4 separate regions of the Homo sapiens genome follow, and regions 1, 2 and 4 are each linked to region 3. Evidence: promoter capture Hi-C in 16 types of primary human blood cells and fetal thymus (Javierre and others, 2016). All regions are on one chromosome and are shown on one strand. The core of a region is centred on a gene start or on the middle of the fragment in contact, and the rest is flanking DNA. Distances in the headings are between cores, read along the strand shown. Region 1 has its middle 8.6 kb from the start of TMEM114. Region 2 overlaps TMEM114 (transmembrane protein 114). Region 3 holds the start of CARHSP1 (calcium regulated heat stable protein 1). Region 4 has its middle 50 kb from the start of TMEM114.

Region 1 (2,700 bases), core at 106-2,605, 270 kb before region 3:
AAAAAAAAAATTACTTGCCCTTAAATCCTTATCTCAGGGTCTACTTCCAAAAAACCCAACCTAAGACCTGTTATCTAGCACTCTTACACCTTCAAAGAGACCTTCCTAATAGTAATTAAGGAATACTTAACAATGAAGTTATTTGCTAGCTACGTGTCTGCTCCTTTGGACTATAAACCTCATTCAGGCAATATGCTAGATACTATAGGATGGCTCACTCAACACCATTCAGATTCACTTCCCTTTCACATTTCTAGATCCGTTCCAGCCAGTAGTGGCCATGTGACATAATTCAGACCAATCAGATAGACACAGAGTCTATTGGGAATGGCTCCCCCAAGCAAAACGACAAGGCCTTGGGAGAAGGCTTTTTGTCCATCTGGAATGTAAATGTGATGTCTAGAAGTGCAGCAGCTATTTTGCAAACACGAGGATAAACCATCCGTGATGGCAAAAACAGAAAGCGGCAGAGACTTGAGCACCCAATAGTATCATTGAACTTTGCAACTCTCCATTGACTGAACATATGAACACCCAATAGTATCATTGCCCCATCTTTGATTTGCCTACCTCCAGAATTCTTGTTACAAGATAAAAATGAACCCTTATCTATTAAGCCATTAACTTAGAGTTGTCTGCTATTTGCAACGGAATGCATTGTGAATTGATGCAGACAGGGATTGCATTGGTGCTATCCAATGGGCATCATTGGCTTCGGGGTTAGTATGTGACACACAGTATGTGTGTAATAGAAATTTGTTGATTTAATAAACGAATCCTGCAAAAAGTCTCTTCTTGCAAGCACAGAGCTTATTTTGTGGGGCTGTAAGGAACTGTAAGGAACCAGCTGAAGGCTTTAGAAATATAGCTGGGATGTGGTACAGTTATTAAGATTGCTGCACTAGAGAGAAATGCCTCCTCTCTGTATTAAGTTTCATGAAGTCATGATGTTCTGCTGGTGAACTGGACTCCCTGGACCTGACCTGTGCATAACCATTTAAGTGTAAAGCCTTTATCCGTCCATTAAGGACATCTAGAAGAGCTAGCTGCCACTCTCCATACCCTAGGTGATGTAATTAGCTTAAAATGAAAAGAGATCAGTAACCCACTGGTCTAATTTTGCCATTACCCACCTGGCATAACACCAAGAGATTAAAGCCTGGGTCTGAGCTCTCTTTCTTTGGGGAAACTTCTTCCCAAATTGGAATAAAAATCCTCAACCAGAGAGAAGCTTCTTTCAGGTATCACACAGCCGAAGGGAAAGAATTTAGACCAGGAACCAGGACAGCTGGGTTCCAGCACCAGCTCTGCCACTAGCCTGCTGAAAGGTCCTGATCTGGTTACTTCTCCTTTCTGGGCCTCAGTTTCCTCATCTGTAAGAGGGGCTAGTAAAAGCCCTTCTCTAGGAATCTATTCCAGTGATAGCTGATATGTGCTGGATTGTGACAATGGGGCAGGCACATCAGGCACATTCCTGTTTGAAGCTTCACATCAATTTTGGGAGAAAAGTATGCCTAATGCAACCATGTTACAGATAGAAACACCAAGGCTCAGAGAGGTTGAGTAAGTGAATCAATATCACACAGCTATTAAGTACAGGATCCAGGATTCAAACACAAGCTTGTCTAACTTCAAAGCCATGCTTTGAATGTGGGATTGGTTTCATGCATTTCGGTAAAAGAGCATAAAGCAAGACTAACATGTAAGAGATACTCAGTCCATATTTATTTATTTATTTAGAGACAGAGTCTCGCTCTGTCGCCCAAGCTGGAGTGCAATGATGTGATCTCGGCTCACTGCAAACTCTGCCTCCCCGGTTCAAGTGATTCTCCTGCCTCAGCCTCCCAAGTAGCTGAGATTACAGGCACCCAACACCACATCCAGCTAATTTTTGTATTTTTGGTAGAGACAGGGTTTCACCATGTTGGCCAGGTTGGTCTCCAATTCCTGGCCTCAAGGGGTCCACCCGCCTCGACCTCCCAAAGTGCTGGGATTACAGGCATGAGCCACGGGGCCTGGCCTCAGTCAATATTAACTCATATGGCCTGACAATAGCTTAATGTGAGAGATATAGTGGAAAGAATTGAAGTATCAAAGAAACCTCACTTCAAATGCCACCTCCACCCCTTATTTGCCAAGGGACACTGATCAACAGTTTTAGTTCTCTGAACTTCATTTTCCTCTTCAGAAGAATGAAAGTAACGATACCAAACTCACAGAGTTATCGTCGAAATTAAATTAGACAATATATGACAGGCTGGGCATAGTGGCTCACACCTATAATCCTAGGATCTTGGAAGGCCATGGCATGGAGGATGGCTAGAGCCCAGGAGTTTGAGACCAGCCAGGGCAACATAGTAAGACCCCCTCTCTACAAGTAAAAAATTTAAAAATTAGCTGGACGTGGTGGTGAGCACCTGTGGTCCCAGCTACTTAAGAGGCTGAGGTGGGAGGATCACTTGAGCCTAGGAGGTCAAGGCTACAGTGAAAGAAGAGAAGACATAAAGACAATCCTGACTGTGAGATTATAAGGACATGACTTGGAATCACTCATGCCAAGTCCTGAGCAGAGTCTCAGGCAGCCCATAAAAACAGCTAGTAAACATTAGCTCCAGCTATTAGCTCAAGTCCCTCTCCTACGAAACGCCATACGGCAGCTCAGAGTTTGACCCAGCAAGGTCACACAGCTAATAAGGCATG
Region 2 (2,967 bases), core at 235-2,734, 300 kb before region 3:
TCAACCCTCCCTCTTCATTTCCCTCTAACACAGAAGCTTCTTCCCACCTCAGGGCCTTTGCGTCTGCTGTCACCTGCCTGGTCTGCAGTTTCCCTACCTACAGGTTCTTCATGCGGGTCTCAGCACAATGTCACCTCCTCCAAGAAGCCCTTTCTAATTGTCCTTCCTGGAGTCACATCTCTACCAGACACCTTTCATCCCATCACCCTGGTTTTTTTTTTTTTTTTTTTTTGAGATGGAGTCTCACTCTGTCACCCAGGCTGGAGCGCAATGGTGCGATCTCGGCTCACTGTAACCTCCACCTCCTGGGTTCAAGTGATTCTCCTGCCTTAGCCTCCCAAGTAGCTGGGATTACAGGCGCGTGTTACCACAGCTGGCTATTTTTTTTTTTTTTGTATTTTTAGTAGAGATGGGGTTTCACCATGTTGGCCAGGCTAGTTTCGAACTCCTGACCTCAGGTGACCTGCCTGTCTTGGCATCCCAAAGTGCTGGGATTACAGGCATGAGCCATGGCGCCCGGCCTCATCACCCTGTTTTGTTTTCTTCATAACACTAATCACTGTCTGAATCTCTCAGATAGATTATTGGTTCATGGGTTTATCATCTGTTCCCATGTGAGCTAGGAAGGGTGGAGATTTTCTTGGCCACCCCCATGAATGTGTCCCCAGGCCCTGGAACAGTCTCTGACACTGTAGGTATCTGGCAAGCATTTATCAAATGCATGAATGGATGGGCGAATGAATGAGCTTATTCTGTGTTGTCAGTTCCTGAGGTGCACACATGTTTTGGTTTGTTATTGTCCATTATTGCTCGCTTAGCAGAGTGTCTCAGCATGTCCCAAGGTGGACGTGTGGGACCAGATGTCCTGAGCATCATAGGATGCGAGGAGCATCCCTGGCCTCTTCCCACTGGAGCTGCCGGTAATACCACTCCCCACACGCACTAAGAACAACCAAAACTGTCTCCAAACACTGCCAAATGTCAGGTGGGGGAGAGAATCGCCCCAGCTGAGAACTCTGGCCCTGCAGTATTTAATCCAGCACTTGGGCGCTAGGAGGGCTGAAAACGTGTCTCTTGACGAATTTGGGGATCAAATCCTGCCTCTGGAGCAGTTCCACAATACGACCAGCAGGTGGAAGCAGAGACCGCCCTTTCGGTAGCATGGTTGCCCTCACTTTGCAAAAACTTTGTTTTCCCCAGCATTGTAACTGATTTTCCAACAGCGCTCATTTAGCCCCATGTGGCCATGTGAGTAACCCACTCCTTTTGCGCCTTTCCGGATTAGACAGGGACGTCGCAGCAACGTCCTGAAAGGAGCAGACAGCCAGTAAAGAAGTGCAGGCGTTGGTGGAAGTAGGGGGAGGACCATCTTGGGATCAGGCAGTTCTGAAGTTTACTCCCAGTTGCGTCCCTTTCTCTCCTTATGCCCTTAGTCCAGTTATGTTAACCTGCCAGTGCCTCAGTTTCCTCATCTGTACCCTGCTTTGCTTATCTCCTAGTCCTCACCACGGGCTACGTATTTCATATGCCTCTCTCTCCTCAATCATGTGGCACCCCAGAGAGCAAGGTCTGGGTCTGGAGGAGTCATTGCCCCCCCAGTTGCTGGTGTGTACTGGCCTTCCTTTGAGTGTTTGTTGAATGACTGACTGACCGACTGGCGTGGAGAATAGCACAGGTGCATAGATGTGGATGTCAGCTATAATGATGACAATGCTGATGTCATGGTGGTGTCATGTCGTTGTGGTGGTGATGTCATGGCATGGTGGTGATGATGTCATGATGTTTGTTGAATGACTGACTGACCGACTGGCATGGAGAATAGCACAGGTGCATAGAAAGTACTCAGTGGGTGTCAGCTATGATGATGACAGTGTTGACGTCATGGTGATGATGATGTCATGATGAAGACGATGATGCCATATTGTTGATAATCGTGTTGTCATCTTTTAATCCACACCAGTATTCCCCAAACCATCAGCACCTCCCAGAGTTTCCTAAGCCAAAGGCTCCTCGGGCCCTCCCCTACATCTCATGACTTGGAATCTTGCAGGAACAGAATCTCAGCCATGGTTTTGGGTTAGAATAGGCTGGAGAGCTCTTAAAAAACACTGATGCCTGGACACCAGCCCTAGAGAATATCAGATCAAGGATGTAGACAGCAGCAGGATTTTTGGAAGATACCCAGGTGATTCTAAGAGCAGCAAGATGACAACCCTTCTCTGTCACTTAATAAACGCCCCACCTCGGCATTTATGCAAACAGTGGCTCTGGGCCAGAAGCCTCGGCATCGCCTGGAAGCCACTTAGAAATGTGAGTTTTTGGGCTTCACCCAGGCCTCCTGGCTCAGACACCCTGGGGGTGGCATCAGCCCGAGAGTATCAACAAGCCCATAGAGTCTGGGGCGCGCTAAATGTGAACAGCACTGCCCCAGGGGACCCGGATGGGGAGCCCATTCCCAGGGGCAGAACACCAGGATGAAAGGAGGGATGGATTTTTCTGGGGGAGGACGGAAAAGGTATGATTAGTCTTGAAGAGTGCTCTATCAATTGGCCAACCCCTTGGGAGTCTCGCAGCTTCATATTGTAGACCTAACCTGACCCCGTAGAAAGCCCATGTCATGCCAGAGTTATTTTAGAGCAAAAGGAACTCCAGGCCAGAGCTCCCCAGAGAGAGCTGAACGCATTACAGGGCCCAGGAGGTAGGGCACCCTCTCCCTTTCCCAGACCCACCAAGGAGCTGATCCAAGGGACATGGGTGAGGAGGAAATGAAGTCGGAGGGGGCGTGAGGACTTTGCAATCTGTAAAGCTCTGTGTGTGATTAAAGGATCGTTTTTATTTCTCGCGAAGCGGTTTGGCACTCCCTCGGGCTCCTCCAGGCCACACGGACACACACGGACATAAGCACACAGGTACTAGGATAACAGCCAGGCCCCAAGCTTAGTCCGCGGGGATTTGTGGGGGAAGGAG
Region 3 (2,880 bases), core at 260-2,759:
CCCCTGCTGATGGAACACAAACCAAATGCGCTGGCTTTGCCACTCGGTGGAACAAAGACCGATCCCCTACCTAGGGGACCCACCGTCAACCACCCTCAACCCCACCCCATGGCCCCACGCCAGGCCTAGCTCAGCTCATTGAAAACATCTACTCCCAGCCGGGCTCTGCGCCTCTTTCTTGCCCTGAAGGGACCAGCATCGAGAACTCACGGTCATCACCGAGGCCACCCAGGGAGTGCAGAGGGCGGTGGGGTCTCCAAGGAGGACCCCGAGCCCAGAGGAGGGCCAAAGGCCCGAAGGGAGGGAGAACAGAGGCAGAGAGAGGCTGGAGAAGGTAGTGGCGGAAGATAACAGGAAGCCCTGCTGAGAAGTTGGGGACTTAGACGACAATGGGACTTCGGTGGACGATTTTCAGCGTGGGGTAGATCTAAGCGGATTGTTTTTCTAAGTTCCCTCTGGCTTCAGAGTGGCAGCAAATGACAGGGGCAAGCAAGACTGGGCACAGAGAGACTGAGAAATATCAAAACAGCAAGTTAAAAAACAGTAGCTTACGTGTCTCCCGGCACGGGGCTAGCTGCCTCCTTTTACTCTCACACACCCTCTCATGCCAGAAGAAGTCAGAGCCCAGTCTGCAGATGGGGAAACTGAGGCTCCGAGAGGCCTCCTATTTGGCAGAGATTTCCCCACCTATTAAGACCCAAGGCCCTGCCTGGAGCGGGACGTCTCCGCCTCCCCCAGCACACACATCCACTCCAACCCCAGAAAACCATAGGGCCGGAGGCTTCCTTTTTAAAAATCAAAAAAGAACATTTCACTTCCGGCCTGCAAACCTGAACCGCCAGCGCAGCCTGCGGAAAGGGGGCCTGTGGGCGCGGGTGAAGTTTTTCTCCAGCGCCTAAGGCACCCCCACCCCCATCCGGGCGCAAACACCCGGGCCCAGCGCGCCCGGCGGCTCCTCCTCCCCCAGATGCGGCTAATCGCGCGGCGCCAGGACGGCTCCCCACCTCCCCCGCCGGGCCTGGCCGCCGTCCCAACCTCGAGCCACAGCTGGCGCGGCCAGGCCCGGCGGGGGGTGGCTCTGCTTCCCGCGTGCGACGCCCCCCGCGCCTCGCCCCACCGCCCGGCGAGTCCCCCGTCCAGGGCTCCCGCCCAAAGGCAAAAGCAGCGGGGAGGGCGGGAAGAGCTTCCCCTGCACGCAGAGAACAGGTGGCCAGGCGGGAAGTACTACCCGACGTCCGCCTAGAATCCTTGCCGCTGTTGCCACACCCACCCCTTCCCCTGGGGAGGAGCAACCCGCGTTCCCCAAACAGGCCCCGAGAAACCCAGCCCGGAGCCCTCCTCTGCCGAGCTAGAAGACCCTGCAGGATGGGGGACGATGGAGGCAGAGGAGGCCGAGGCCCCACCCCTGCGGCTCCCGGGGCCGCGGGCCAGGGGCGCCTATCCTGGGGTCCCCGAGAAGAGCTCCCTACCCTGCAATCCGTTCTGCTCCGCCAGCCGCTTCGCTCCGACTGAGAGCGCGGAGCTGGGGAGGGGGCGTGGCCCGAGGGGGGGTGGGGCGCCGATCCCCGCCCCCAGGAGCTCCCGGCCAATGGGGCTGCGGGAGGGAGCCCGGGACGGTGGGGGCGGGCGGGGCGGGAGTGGCCCGGACAGGACCTTTGTGTCCGCGCCTTAGACTGGCGGGAGAGCGGAACGCAGAGCGCGGGACGTAGGGGCCGGGGCGGGGCGGGGCGGGGCGGAGCTGGGCTGCACCCACCAGCAGAAAACGCCCCTGCAAAGTGGGGGAACTGTGTCCCTGCGCCCGTGCAGTTCCTTCCCCTCGCCACGCGCGCCAGGTGCGGCTCCCACCTGCCTTTGGCTCTAAAATCTGTATAATCCCGGAGGGTGTCACTTTTAGCAGAAAGGAAATAAAGGAATGAAAAGAGAGACGGAAGAAAACAAGCAAAAAACAGAAAGGAGGAAAAGGGAAAGAAAAAATACACACGCACACACACACCAGAAAAACAGGGTTTTGTTTTCTCGTTGGGGATTTTGATTTTGTTCTCTTCTCTTGTTTCATTTCTAGCCTTCCTTGAGTCCTCTGTTTTTGGAGGTAAAAAATGTTACCTCTGTTTTGCAGGAGAGGAAACTGAGGCACAGAGAGGCGACCAGCCCATGGGCACGGCCAGTCGAGAGCAGCCCCTGAAGGCGAGCCTAGATCCCGGGACCAGGGTCAGCTTGGTATTTGAGGGGCGCGGGGAAGGAGAGAGGTCCCCGGAGCTCGCCCGGGACAACAGGGCCCCCGGAGGCGGCGGTGAGGACTGTGCCTGCCTCACTCTGCAGCCCCTATTGGGGCCACTGGGGAAAAGGCCCAGCAGCGAAACCAACTAGTCCAAGCCAGGCAAGGAACCGTCCTAGACGGCTGGTGGGAACAACCGCGCAGCTGCTGTGGAAAAAGCCCGGCGGTTCCTCAAACCACGAGCCCTGGAGTCTCCATAAAACCCATCAACTCCACTCCTAGGTGTCTGCGCGCCCAAGAGAAATAAAAATGTTTGTCCACACAAAAATTTACTTGAGGCCGGGTGCGGTGGCTCACGCCTGTAATTCCAGCTCTTTGGGAGGCCGAGGCAGGAGGATCACTTGAGCTCAGGAGTTGGAGACCAGCCTGGCCAACATGGCGAAACCCCGTGTCTATGAAAAATACAAAAATTTGCCGGGCTTGGTGGCGGGTGCCTGTAATCCCAGTTACTTGGGAGACTGAGGCAGGAGAATCACTTGAACCCGGGAGGTGGAGGTTGCAGTGAGCCAGGATCATGCCACTGCACTCCAGCCTGGGCGACAGCGAGTCTCCGTCTCGGGGGGGAAAAAAAGTTAAAAATAAATAAATAGGCCGGGCGCGGTGGC
Region 4 (2,700 bases), core at 9-2,508, 330 kb before region 3:
ATAGAGGGGTGGGAGGTAGAGAAGCTAGAAGCAGAATCCCAACCCAAGACCCACTTACCCAGAATACTTGCCCCTGGCCCGAGTGACTGCTCCAGCTCCGCAAAGCCTCCTTCTCTCTCTGACCCTCATCAGACCCAGAGGAGGGCTCTGCCTCCTGCAAGCAGCCTCACATGCCTGGACAGATCTTCCCTGCAGGCTCACACCACCCTCTCCTTCCATCCTCCCACGCTCCAATTCCCTTATCCAAGGAAAATGACCCCTGAAGCTTCACTCTTCCAGATCCCATCCTGGGATTCGGGGTTGTATCAGCTGGAAGCACTCTGCGTGCAACTGGCCCAGGGATCCTTAAATATTTATTCACCACCACAAGCAAGACAGATGTTGTTCATATAGATCTCATGTCCCATAGCAATATCCAGATTGTAACAGAAAACCTAAACTAAAAAAGAAAAAAAAAATGGAAGTAACTTTAAAAAATTACAACTCACAAATATGCTATTTTTTTAATTATTTTATTTTTTTACACAGAGTCTCGCTCTGCCACCCAGGCTGGAATGCAGTGAAACAATCTCTCCTCACTGCAGCCTCCACCTCCCAGATTCAAGCGATTCTCCTGCCTCAGCCTCTGGAATAGCTGGGATTACAGGCACATGCCACCATGCCTGGCTGATTTTTGTATTTTTAGTAGAGATGGGGTTTCACCACGTTGACCAGGCTGGTCTTGAACTCTCGACCTCAGCCTAAGGTGATCCACCCGCCTCAGCCTCCCAAAGTGCTGGGATTACAGGCTTGAACTGCTGTGCCGGGCCACAAATATGGTATTTAATAATAAGAATGTATTTATTCATTCAAACATCAGGTTATTGAGTGCATATTTATCAAATTGCTATAAATATATATATAGCACTTGGCTAGAGATTAAGGATACAGTGATGAACTACTTTTCCATAAAATAGTTTATAGGAGGAATAGAACAGTCTCAGATAGAGGTAGGAGCTCTGGAGTCCAGCCACCTGAGCAGGAATCCCAGCTGATCGCTCGCCTGCTGGGTATCATTATATCAACCTCAGTTTCCTCAACTGTGAAATAAGAGTGATGATGATTGCATTGAATTCATCAGATTGTCATAAGTGTTCAATGAAATAATGCAAGTAAAATAGCTGGTATATAGCAAGCACTCCAAAAATCTCAGCTATTATTACTGTTATAATAGCACCCATTTTATCCAAGGTTGGATAGTCAATGAAAGATACAGAAAAAGACAGGGAGACTTGGGAGTTGATAAGAACAGGTGAAGTAGAATTCAATTCATTCACTGAACCAATTTTTATTGACCACTCACTATAGCTCAGCATTCCACTAGGTACTGGGAACCAGTGGTAAGCAAAGACAGACATAGTTCCTATCTTCTTGGAGCTTACAGACTGGTGGGAGAGATGGACATAAACCAAAGAATCACACGAATAACTGCTAAATTTTGACAATGACAATTGTTACAGAAGAGAGATGTAGGATGTTTCAAGAGCTGACAACAGGAGGACTTGATCTAATGAGAGGTATCAGGGCAGGCTTCCCTGGAGAGTAAAGTTTGAGCTGAGATGGAACTCAGGTTAAAAGACTAAGCAGCAGGTGCAAAGTCCCTGTGGCAAAGACATACGCATGGAACTGAAAGAAGTCCAGAGTTGCCAGAGAGAGACTACAACGGGGAGTGTAGAGTGAGGTGAGGCTGAGAGCGAAGTCTGGACCAGCCCCATGCAGGGTCTAATGATAATAATGACCACAAATAGAGTGGCAGCAATCATATATTGAACTCTTGCTATATGCCAGGCATATTATATCATATCGTCTAAACTCATGACAATACCATGAAGTTGGTGCTATTATTTTCTGCGTTTTACTAATGGGGAAACAGGCTTGAGGTCATGTGGCTACCAAGGACGTGAACCACTTATGTCTTACTCAAGAGCCCTCACAGTCCTGGACTCAGAGCATCATACAATTTGTCATACAAATGAGGACAGTCCAGGGTTACATTATTAATAATACTAAGACCACAGACATAAACCAGGACCTCCCCAAGCACTACTGGATAATATCTCAGGATAAAAAAAAATGAAAGCACTTTGTAAACAGTGATATCTACTAAGAGATCAGAGACAATTCGTCTGACCATAAGGTTCAGGAAGGGGAAAGATCTCAGTGTAACCAGGAGATCATTTTCTTGAACCAATGCCTCATTCTGCTACAACATGAAGCTTCATTCCAGTCCCACATCTTCAATATATTTGACATTTTGAAAAATAATTAATTGTGTCAGTTTTATTAATGTTTTAAAATACAAATTAAAAATGTGACAAATGAGTGAGAAACAGCAGTCTGTTTTAATGAAAATTTCATATTCTCCATCAATAAATCATAAACTAAAGAGAACCCAACATAAGCCACTATATTCCTTGCCTGTCTGTGTATGGGGTTACTTGGCAGAGGGTTCCACTTGGGAACTGGGAAGATTCTAGAATTCTGCAGGGCCCAAGAGTTCAGGCTGGTGAGGATCAAAGGGGTCTGGCTTACAAAGACGTAGCACAGGCTCCAATTCCCCTGTTCTTTCCAAGAACAAAGGGCTTAGAGAGATGTAGCACAGTGGCCCCATATGAACTTTACCTCTAAGGGATCCACCACCCTGCGAGGCAGCTTTCACCA

What was found. The method cuts DNA at HindIII sites, captures the fragments that hold promoters and counts their contacts. A CHiCAGO score of 5 or more calls a contact.
Region 1: a contact is called between a fragment that was not itself captured here and the fragment with the promoter of CARHSP1 in region 3, in 13 of 17 cell types (naive CD8 T cells, neutrophils, total CD4 T cells and 10 more). The highest score is 19.3, in naive CD8 T cells.
Region 2: a contact is called between a fragment that was not itself captured here and the fragment with the promoter of CARHSP1 in region 3, in 17 of 17 cell types (non-activated CD4 T cells, total CD4 T cells, monocytes and 14 more). The highest score is 45.5, in non-activated CD4 T cells.
Region 4: a contact is called between a fragment that was not itself captured here and the fragment with the promoter of CARHSP1 in region 3, in 5 of 17 cell types (monocytes, M0 macrophages, erythroblasts and 2 more). The highest score is 7.1, in monocytes.

The regions. Positions count from the first base shown.
Region 1 is chr16:8,597,718-8,600,417 of GRCh38, forward strand. No RefSeq gene overlaps it. Among named protein-coding and RNA genes, the nearest start is that of TMEM114, 8.6 kb to the left of the region's middle. The HindIII fragment of the contact is 253 bases long and covers 1,230-1,482 here.
Region 2 is chr16:8,566,687-8,569,653 of GRCh38, forward strand. TMEM114 (transmembrane protein 114) reads right to left here. Exons shown (of 4, transcript NM_001146336.2): 4 at 2,814-2,967. Among named protein-coding and RNA genes, the nearest start is that of TMEM114, 22 kb to the right of the region's middle. The HindIII fragment of the contact is 2,900 bases long and covers 35-2,934 here.
Region 3 is chr16:8,867,497-8,870,376 of GRCh38, forward strand. CARHSP1 (calcium regulated heat stable protein 1) reads right to left here and starts at 1,510. Exons shown (of 4, transcript NM_014316.4): 1 at 1,470-1,510. CARHSP1-DT (CARHSP1 divergent transcript) reads left to right here and starts at 1,785. Exons shown (of 2, transcript NR_186721.1): 1 at 1,785-1,832; 2 at 2,117-2,543. RefSeq lists an enhancer at 673-732 and a silencer at 873-1,832. The HindIII fragment of the contact is 19,717 bases long and covers 1-2,880 here.
Region 4 is chr16:8,539,315-8,542,014 of GRCh38, forward strand. It overlaps a transcript of TMEM114 not described here. Among named protein-coding and RNA genes, the nearest start is that of TMEM114, 50 kb to the right of the region's middle. The HindIII fragment of the contact is 1,990 bases long and covers 264-2,253 here.